2 separate regions of the Homo sapiens genome follow, and region 2 is linked to region 1. The links are contacts of gene promoters, found by promoter capture Hi-C in blood cells and fetal thymus (Javierre and others, 2016). All regions are on one chromosome and are shown on one strand. Each heading gives the region's core, a stretch centred on a gene start or on the middle of the fragment in contact. The rest is flanking DNA. Distances are from core to core; before and after follow the strand shown. Region 1 holds the start of HLX (H2.0 like homeobox). Region 2 has its middle 3.6 kb from the start of TRT-TGT2-1.

The links. Contacts are between HindIII fragments. The CHiCAGO score rates a contact against its expected background, and 5 or more counts as called.
Region 2: a fragment that was not itself captured here is called in contact with the fragment with the promoter of HLX in region 1 in 3 of 17 cell types (M0 macrophages, naive B cells and total B cells); the score reaches 5.7 in M0 macrophages.

The regions. Positions count from the first base shown.
Region 1 is chr1:220,876,524-220,880,876 of GRCh38, forward strand. It overlaps HLX (H2.0 like homeobox), which reads left to right and starts at 2,920. Exons shown (of 4, transcript NM_021958.4): 1 at 2,920-3,926. The coding sequence starts at 3,335. It overlaps HLX-AS1 (HLX antisense RNA 1), which reads right to left and starts at 3,617. Exons shown (of 3, transcript NR_046901.1): 1 at 3,326-3,617. RefSeq lists a silencer at 2,477-2,526 and an enhancer at 3,645-4,253. The HindIII fragment of the contact is 7,579 bases long and covers 1,478-4,353 here.
Region 2 is chr1:222,459,297-222,463,538 of GRCh38, forward strand. No RefSeq gene overlaps it. Among named protein-coding and RNA genes, the nearest start is that of TRT-TGT2-1, 3.6 kb to the right of the region's middle. The HindIII fragment of the contact is 4,058 bases long and covers 647-4,242 here.

The DNA of each region.
Region 1 (4,353 bases), core at 1,670-4,169:
TTCTCAACCCCCATGGCTACCAGCCCCTGGGGAGCCCTCGCCTCTACCCCCAGGACCTCCCTGCCCGGCTCAGTAGCTCTGGGCCAGTTCATTTCGCCACAGCCCGGAGCCTCTCGGAAAGCAAAGATTAAAGGGGAAAGTCGCAGCTGTATATTTATATTTTCATTGCTAGAAGGGAATTGATTTCCGTGCATTTATTTTGGTAGTTGTAATACATAAGGGCGGATTTGCGTCACCCGAGCAACTTGCCGGTGGAGATAAAGTTGCACAAATATTGAAAGGGGAAGTGCTAGGAGTCATTATAGAGTTTTTCTCCGGAAGAAATAAGGATTTCTGCAGTATCCTAAAATACTAAGGCCGCTTCTATTTTGAGACCAATCTCGCAGGCACATCCGCTCATTTAGTCCCGAGTTTGAGCCCATCAAAAAACAGGAGATGACCTGAACTCCGGCGAGCCCAGGGTTTCCTGCTGCTTTCTTGGTTCTGAAGAGTGGGGAGTAAGGAGGGCGGGAGTCTGCGGGCTCAGAACTCGGCGAGGGGCCTGCAGGGGCCAGGCTTGGGCCTGGGGAAGGGGTAGAGGGGGCGGCGGGGGTCGCTCCAAAGACTTGTATTTCGCGTTTGCCTCCGGGAGCTGGGAGTAAGGCCTTGGATGGCGCCGACGCGGTTGCGAGGAAGCTGAGGCCTGGGAGAGCAAGGGGCGCGCAGGCGAAGTTGCAACTTGCACTCCAGCCGCGGGCCTGGCGGAGAAAGGGAGGCTCGCGGCGCCGCGAGGAGTCGGCGGGCCTCGGGGCCTCGCTTTCGCCGCATCTGCCCAGCGCTCCGGGCCTTGAATCTCGGCAGATGCGAGTTGTGGGCACCTAGGGAACCCTGAGGACTCGCATTCCCCCGGGTCTGTATCCCGTGCCCACCCCGGAGCGTCGCAAACCTTGGAAAGGGTGAAAGCTGATAGGGGAGTCTTATTTCTTAAGAGAGAGGGTGAGGGCGCGCGGCGCTGCCTCGGGTAAGGAGTAAATGCACCTCTTTCACAACCGTGAGTTTGGGCTTAGGCTGAGGTCTAAATGTTTGCAGTCAAATTAGAAACGCAATCAAACTGGAAGTGGCACTAGAAAGCAGAGGGCTCACGGCCTCCGCTACGCACACTCCCACCGAAGGCTCACCAGAACCCTCAGCCAGCGCCTCAATTGCCCATGTTGTACTTGTCGCTCCTTTGCCTTCACCTTGACACAGAAAAACTGGTCTTAATACGTCTCTCGCCCCAGGTACCCCTACCTTCAGCCAAACACACCCATCTATCTCTGGAAATAGCACCTCTCTCCTGGTTGCGTGGAGCAGGGGAAGAAAACCTTTCAGTAAAAGAGAGATGGAGAGCGAGAGCGGGAGAGCTGGAGGGCGGGAGGAGGGAGAGAGAGAGGGAGAGGGAGAGATCTTAGTGCTGGCTGATCAGAAGTGATTGATAATTTTCCAGGAGAAAGTCAAAAGCTTAAAAGGATAGCATCTGCATCAAGGGGCTAGAGAAAACACCAGAAATTAATTTTATAAGCCCAAACCCTGAACTCGAGATAGGCATGGCAAGTTCACTTGCTTTTCTGGGTTTATTTGGTGAGGAGCCTTCGTGCTGAAGGGAAATAAAAATGTCACAGAATCCCTGTTAGGAGATGCTTATTAGGGCAATCGAAAACAAAAGTTTTCGTGGTTTCATTATTCGTATTATTTTATTTTCTTCCTGAAAATGTGCAAGAACAGCTCATCTGGGTGGCCTGTGGTTTGTTTGGGAGAGGGGTGGGGAAATTCATTCTGACTATAATTTAAAGAGAAGAAATTCTTAAAATAGATATGTCGATGTTGCACAAAACCTCCACCACCACTACCCTGCGTTCTAAAGACCCAAGGCACGAATGGAAGACGTTGACCACCACGCAGCTCCTCCTGCAACCAGGCCCAAGGGGTTCCTGGGGAAGCTGTCACAGAATTGAAAGCAGTATTGAACCCCACGGAAATCTGCTCTTGTGGGCACTTGCAAAACAACGAACCCCACGTGATCCGGAGATGTGGTGGAGGGGTGAGGCTAACATTTCCTACAACCTCCTGCAAAGGATGGAAGCGCGTGCCGCTCTCCCGGGTTTCGGGAGGCAGCCTGTTTTGTAGCCTCTGAGGCTCCGGGGAAAGGTTTGGCTGCGTCTAAGAGAGACGTTTGGAGCCATCCGTCTTATTTTGTTTGAAAAGTCACTCGTTCAATTTGTCACTGTGTGACAGCTCAGAATAAAACCAATTTGCGGCCGCCCCTCCTCCTCGCTTCCCGGAGGATCTCCTGGGAGGCACGAGGCGGACGCGGTGCTGAGTTGGGCCGGGACTCAGGGCGGCAACATTTGGGCAAGGGCCCAGGAAAGATGAGGGGCTTTGCCGAGGACACGGACTCCTGGAATAAAAGCAGAATGAGGTCAAGAGAAGGGAAGCAAAGGGGCCAAAGCGCGCTCCGCTCTCCACCGGGAGGCGGGCTTTGCAGAGCCCTAAAGAGTGAGATTACCGTCCCTTCCCCACGCCCCCAACTCGCCCCGGGTGACAAGCGCTTCAGGAAAGCTCCTGTGATCAACCCTCCTTGCCCCGTGGCGGTTCGGAGCTGCAGAAGTTAGAAGAGAGTCAGAGCCCTCCGGAGCGGCTGCCTGGCCCCTACGCAGAGTAGCAAGAAGCACTGCGATGTGCGCTACTAAGCCCACGCGGCCGCAGCAAAAACTTTGGCGTGGCCGGGGCGTGGCTAGGGTCCGGCCAGGCCCCCTTGTTCCTAATTCCCCTCCACTCCCCGCTCCCATTGGTCACGAGGATGACCAATGAGCGCTCGGATCGAGGTCCTACCCCGGGCCTGACTCGAAAGCTCCTGCCAAAACTTTGGGAGTTTTTAGAGACGAGTTTTTTTTTTTTTCTATTACTTTTCCCCCCCCCTAACTAACGGACTATTATTGTTGTTGTTTTAAATTTAGCTCTTAGGGCTTAGCTATTTGGGTTTTCTTGCGGTGTCCGGCTCCCGTCTCCCTGGCTCCCCCGCCCGCCCTGCGGCCCCAGCGCCCCTCGCTCTCATCCAGCCCGCGAGGAGTGCGGGCGCCGCGCCGCCTTTAAAGCGAGGCCAGGGAGCGAGGCGGTGACCGGCCGAGATCCGGCCCTCGCCTCCTCCCTCGGTGGCGCTAGGGCTCCCGGCCTCTCTTCCTCAGTGCGGGCGGAGAAGCGAAAGCGGATCGTCCTCGGCTGCCGCCGCCTTCTCCGGGACTCGCGCGCCCCTCCCCGCGCGCCCACCCACCCAGTCCGGCTGGACTGCGGCAGCCGCGCGGCTCACCCCGGCAGGATGTTCGCAGCCGGGCTGGCTCCCTTCTACGCCTCCAACTTCAGCCTCTGGTCGGCCGCTTACTGCTCCTCGGCCGGCCCAGGCGGCTGCTCCTTCCCCTTGGACCCCGCCGCCGTCAAAAAGCCCTCCTTCTGCATCGCAGACATTCTGCACGCCGGCGTGGGGGATCTGGGGGCGGCCCCGGAGGGCCTGGCAGGGGCCTCGGCCGCCGCCCTCACCGCGCACTTGGGCTCGGTTCACCCGCACGCCTCTTTCCAAGCGGCGGCCAGATCCCCGCTTCGACCCACCCCAGTGGTGGCGCCCTCCGAAGTCCCGGCTGGCTTCCCGCAGCGGCTGTCTCCGCTCTCAGCCGCCTACCACCACCATCACCCGCAACAACAACAGCAGCAGCAACAGCCGCAGCAGCAACAGCCTCCGCCTCCGCCCCGGGCTGGCGCCCTGCAGCCCCCGGCCTCGGGGACGCGAGTGGTTCCGAACCCCCACCACAGTGGCTCTGCCCCGGCCCCCTCCAGCAAAGACCTCAAATTTGGAATTGACCGCATTTTATCTGCAGAATTTGACCCAAAAGTCAAAGAAGGCAACACGCTGAGAGGTAGGTCTTGGGCGGGAGGCTGCAGGCCTCTGACCACTGACCCACTCCCCGGACCCCGGGCTGGCTTGGGGTGCCTTTGAGTGTTTTTACAATTAAGGACAAATCGGTAAAACGGGAGAGAAGAAAACGAATTGTAAGAAAACTACAAAACATTAGGTCTAAAACTCACCTGTTCTATGTAAAACAAACAAAAAATGACTCCAGGGATTCTTTAAAAACACGTCTTAGAATCAATATTTATAAAAGTGGTTGGTGTAATTATCTGCTAACATGACTTTGATCTCTTTAATAATGTATCTAGAGACAGAATTATATTTTCTGACAGCTAAAGCATTTTTGGGAAACACTTTCGCACTTATCTGATTTCTAGTAAAAATTTCACCCAGGAAATGTAAATAATAAACAAAACCGCCTAGATGAGCGGGCA
Region 2 (4,242 bases), core at 1,426-3,925, 1.6 Mb after region 1:
TTTTCAAATGGAATGCTTAAGCCCAACCCCAAATCATTTAAACTAGAATCTCTGGGTCCCAGGCAATGATATTTTTAAAACCCGCAGGTGACTCTAATAGGACAGCCAGAATGGATACCCATGAGGCTGATGAACAGTAAGACCCTTCAGTTCTGTTTTTCTAACTTAGGTCCCAACTCTCCCAGGATCAGAAGCCATTCTTTTCTCCCTTACTGGGATCCATTCTGGGGGGTGGCTAGTTTCTCTGTCTCATAAGGCTGTCCCAAAAGCCTTGATTAATTTCCTGGAACTTTCTGACTGTCTCAACTGTCCTGCAGTCCCTGAACTGACCATTCCCAGCATCTCATTCTACCACCAAGAAGTATTGAAATCCCATCCCACTCTCCTGTGGTACATATGGGTTGGAAACTTCTACCAAAAGCTGCAAAGAGCAGGGAACATGACAGAAGACAGCTGTGTCTACTGAAAGACTATCTTCTCCTTAGCCTCGTTGAATGCTTGCCCTGTTTGACTTTAATAAGGTTAATTCTAATCTGTAGCTTTTCCGGAGGTGAGAGAATCTCCCCTTTCTGAACATGACTCACTGGCTTCTATTTCAGCTCCCAAAGAAGAGTGTTAATGTCTCACTCAGCAGGTGACTGAGAGAAGCTTTGGCCTTATGAGTCCCATATTCTTCACCCTTTTCTATGCCTCCTGTCACCCCTATTTCTACAACAGGAGAGCTTCGTGCAGCACTCTAAGATACAACTAACAATAAAAGTAATTTATATCACTTACTACTCTCCAGATGCGAGGCTCTGCATAAAGTGTTTACATGCTTCATTTCATTTATTCTTCACAAGTCCCCACATGAGATGGTATTATAGTTATTACCATCATCATTCCCATTTTATAAATGAGGAATCTGAGTAGACTGTACTGCCTGTTCCTCTTCCTTAGCACTGGTCCCCACAGTCCACCCATTTTCTGAATAATGTCTGTTTTCCTACTAGTCTGTATGCTTGGCTAGAGCAGAGACCGCATCAGGATTGGCTGATCACTTAATCCCCAAACTGGCGGAGCAGAGCCAGAACTGAGACATGAGCAGGCTGGCCCCCAGGGCCTTGTGTGCTCACCCTCTGCTCTCATGGAAGGTGAGTCTGCAAAGCTGAGAAGTGGGTTCCTGGGAGGTGGGCAGGCCCTTGGGGTATGTATGGGTCAGGAAGGCAGTGGAAGAGAGAGTTTTAGGAGGAAAAGCAGTCATCGGCACCACGTGCTGCCAAGACACCAAGGCTTCACCCACATAGAGCTTACCTAGTGCCAATGAGGGTCATTTTGGTGGAGCTGTAGGGCCAGAAGACAGATGGGGCAAGTGGAATGTGTGAAAGGTAAGGGTCAGAGTGAATGTGTGGGGACAACTCACTGGAGTTGAAGGGCAGTTTTTATTTTATTTTATTTTATTTTCCACGAGAGAGACACAGAAGCAGACGGGAAGGATCCAGTTGAGCATGAGAGGTTGAGTGTCCCAGGGATAAAGGGCATAGTGGTCCTGCAGGGGTCCTCAGAGGGAAGAGAGGACTGGGCCAGGCTTGGTGGCTCATGCCTGTAATCCCAGCACTTTGGGAGGCCGAGGTGAGCAGATCACCTGTAGTCAAAAGTTTGAGGCCAGCCTGACCAACATGGCAAAACCTCGTCTTTACTAAAAGTACAAAAATCAGCCGGGCATGGTGGCAGGCATCTGTAATCCCAGCTACTCAGGAGGCTTAGGCAGGATAATTGCTTGAACCCAGAGGCAGAGGTTGCAGCGAGCTGAGATCATGCCACTGCACTCAAGCCTGGGCGACAAGAGCAAGACTCTGTCTCATAAAAAAAAAAAAAAAAAAAAAAAAAAAAAAAAAAAAAAAAAAAAAAAAAAAGAGGGCTCTCACTGGGGAGAGATAAAGCTCCTCTACCATAATCGAAGGGCAGGCAGGAAAGTGAACCTGGCCGCACAGGTCCAGGTGGGCAGTCCCTGAAGGGAGGTGAGGCTGGACCTGTGCTGACCTCTTTGCACCCAGCAGCACATTATATCCTGAAAGTGTGTACCCTCCTAGCTCCACTTCCCAGGTGAACAGGAGCTTCAAAAGTTAAGTAATTTTCAGAGGCTGGGAAGGGGGACTGAAGAGAGGTTGGTGATATACTCTGGTTCTGTGTCCCCACCCAAATCTCATCTTGAGTTGTAATCCAAATTATAATCCCCATGTGTTGGGGGAGGGACCTCATGGGAGGTCACTGAATCATGGAGATGATTACCCTCATGCTATTCTCGTGATAGTGAGTGAGTTCTCATGAGATCCAATAGTTTTATAAGGGGCTTTTCCCCAGTTTTGCTCGGCACTCCTCCTTCCTGCTGCCATGTGAAGGACATGTTTGCTTGTTTGCTTCCCCTTCTGCCATGATTGTAAATTCCTGAGGCCTCCCTAGCCCTGTGGAACAGTGAGTCAATCAAATCTCTTCCCTTTGTAAACTACTCAGTCTCGGGCAGCTCTGTATAGCAGCATGAGAACAGACTAATACAGTTGGTCAATGGGTACAAACATACAGTTAGATAGAAGGAATAAGTTCTAGTGTTCGATGGCACAGTAGGGTGACTATAATTATCAATAATGTATTGTATATTTCAAAATAGCTAGTAGAAAAGATTAGAAATGTTCCTAGCACATCATTTCACCCATGATGAAGTTCAAGTTCCTTCTTCTCATGAAGTCGCAGCTTTTTTCTGGCACTAGATAAGCTCAAAGGTTCCTTCTGGCCCTTACATCCTCATACCCTCTGACCTTGAGTCTGACTTTGGACAGGACAGTAGAAGGTCTGCTCCCAGGAGGAGAGGATGCACGTGGGACAATGACTCAGAGGAGAGCCAGACAGCCCCTACACCAAGTGGGTGGGAGAGCCTTCCTGGGCTGTCTTCTGTTTCCCACCACCTCAGGGATACCAGGGATTCTATGGGGAAGGGGAGAGGATGTAGGCAGGGGACAAAGGACAGAATGAGGGTGAAGGAGGTGAGAAAGCAAAGCAACTATCTTCTTAAGGCAAAAAGAAGTCCCTTTAACACACAAAACAGCTGAGGGATGTGGCTGGGACTTACTAGTTTTCATCTCCTTTCCCTCCCAACAAAACTGGACCGTGGGATGCCTTCCCTCCTGGCAGTGCCAGAAGCTGGAATCTCTCCACGTGGTTTTCTGCTGAGGGTTGACCATAGACCAGAAGTAAATGCTCAACCTTTGAAGAACATTCCCTTTTATGTTCGTTTCTGGCATTTCACAGTTTCCTAGCACTCTCAGGTTCACTATTGTGTTGAATCCCTCAAAATGCTCTGAAACAGAGAGGCCAAAATTATCACCTCCATTTTACAGTCTTTATAGGATGTCTACTTTATCTTTATTTCATCTTACCATTTAACTTTGTGTCCTTTTTCTTACAGTACAGAAATTGGAATTGAAAAGAGGAGAGGTTCCATTTGTCTATCACATGCTACCTCCTGCTGCTGGGAGATAACGTGCATCAGTATTGGGAGGAGGGGTCGAGGGTGGTGCTGTGCCAACTCAAGGGAATGGAAGAAGGGAAATTCAAAATTCATTTGTTGAAGTCCTAAGACCCAGTCCCTAAGAATGTGACCTTATTTGGAAAGAGTCTTTTCATAGGTAATCAAGTTAAAGTGAGGTCAGTAGGGTGGGCCCTAACCCAATCTGACTGGTGTCCTTATAAAAAGGAGAAATTTGGATACAGAGCTATACATAGAGGGAAGATGATGTGAGGAGACACAAGGAGAAAATGGCCATCTACAAGCCAAGGAGATCCTTCCTTCACTGCCCTCAGAAGGAACCAGCCCTATCAACACCTTGATTTCATACTTCTAGCCTCCAGAGCTAGAAGATAATACAGTTCTGTTGTTTAAGTCACCTAGTGTGAGGTATTTTGTTACAGCAGCCCTAGCAAACTAATACACTCCTCAAAATCGCCTCTGAGATGGAAAATAAGCCAGCTCTCTAAGGCTCTTGCCAAGACAACATAAGACATTAAAATCAGGCTTATATGTTTCAGGTGGAAGGAACCATGTGCGATGAGAGATGAAAGTACCTGCAGGTAGCTTGAGAGGGAGGGAAAGTTTGTATATGAAAGATGAAATTACTGAGGAGTTTGACCTTTACCCAGAGTACAGTGAGAAGGCACTGAAGGTTCCCGGAGCTGAGGAGGGACGACAGGCAGTAAATCTCAGAGCAA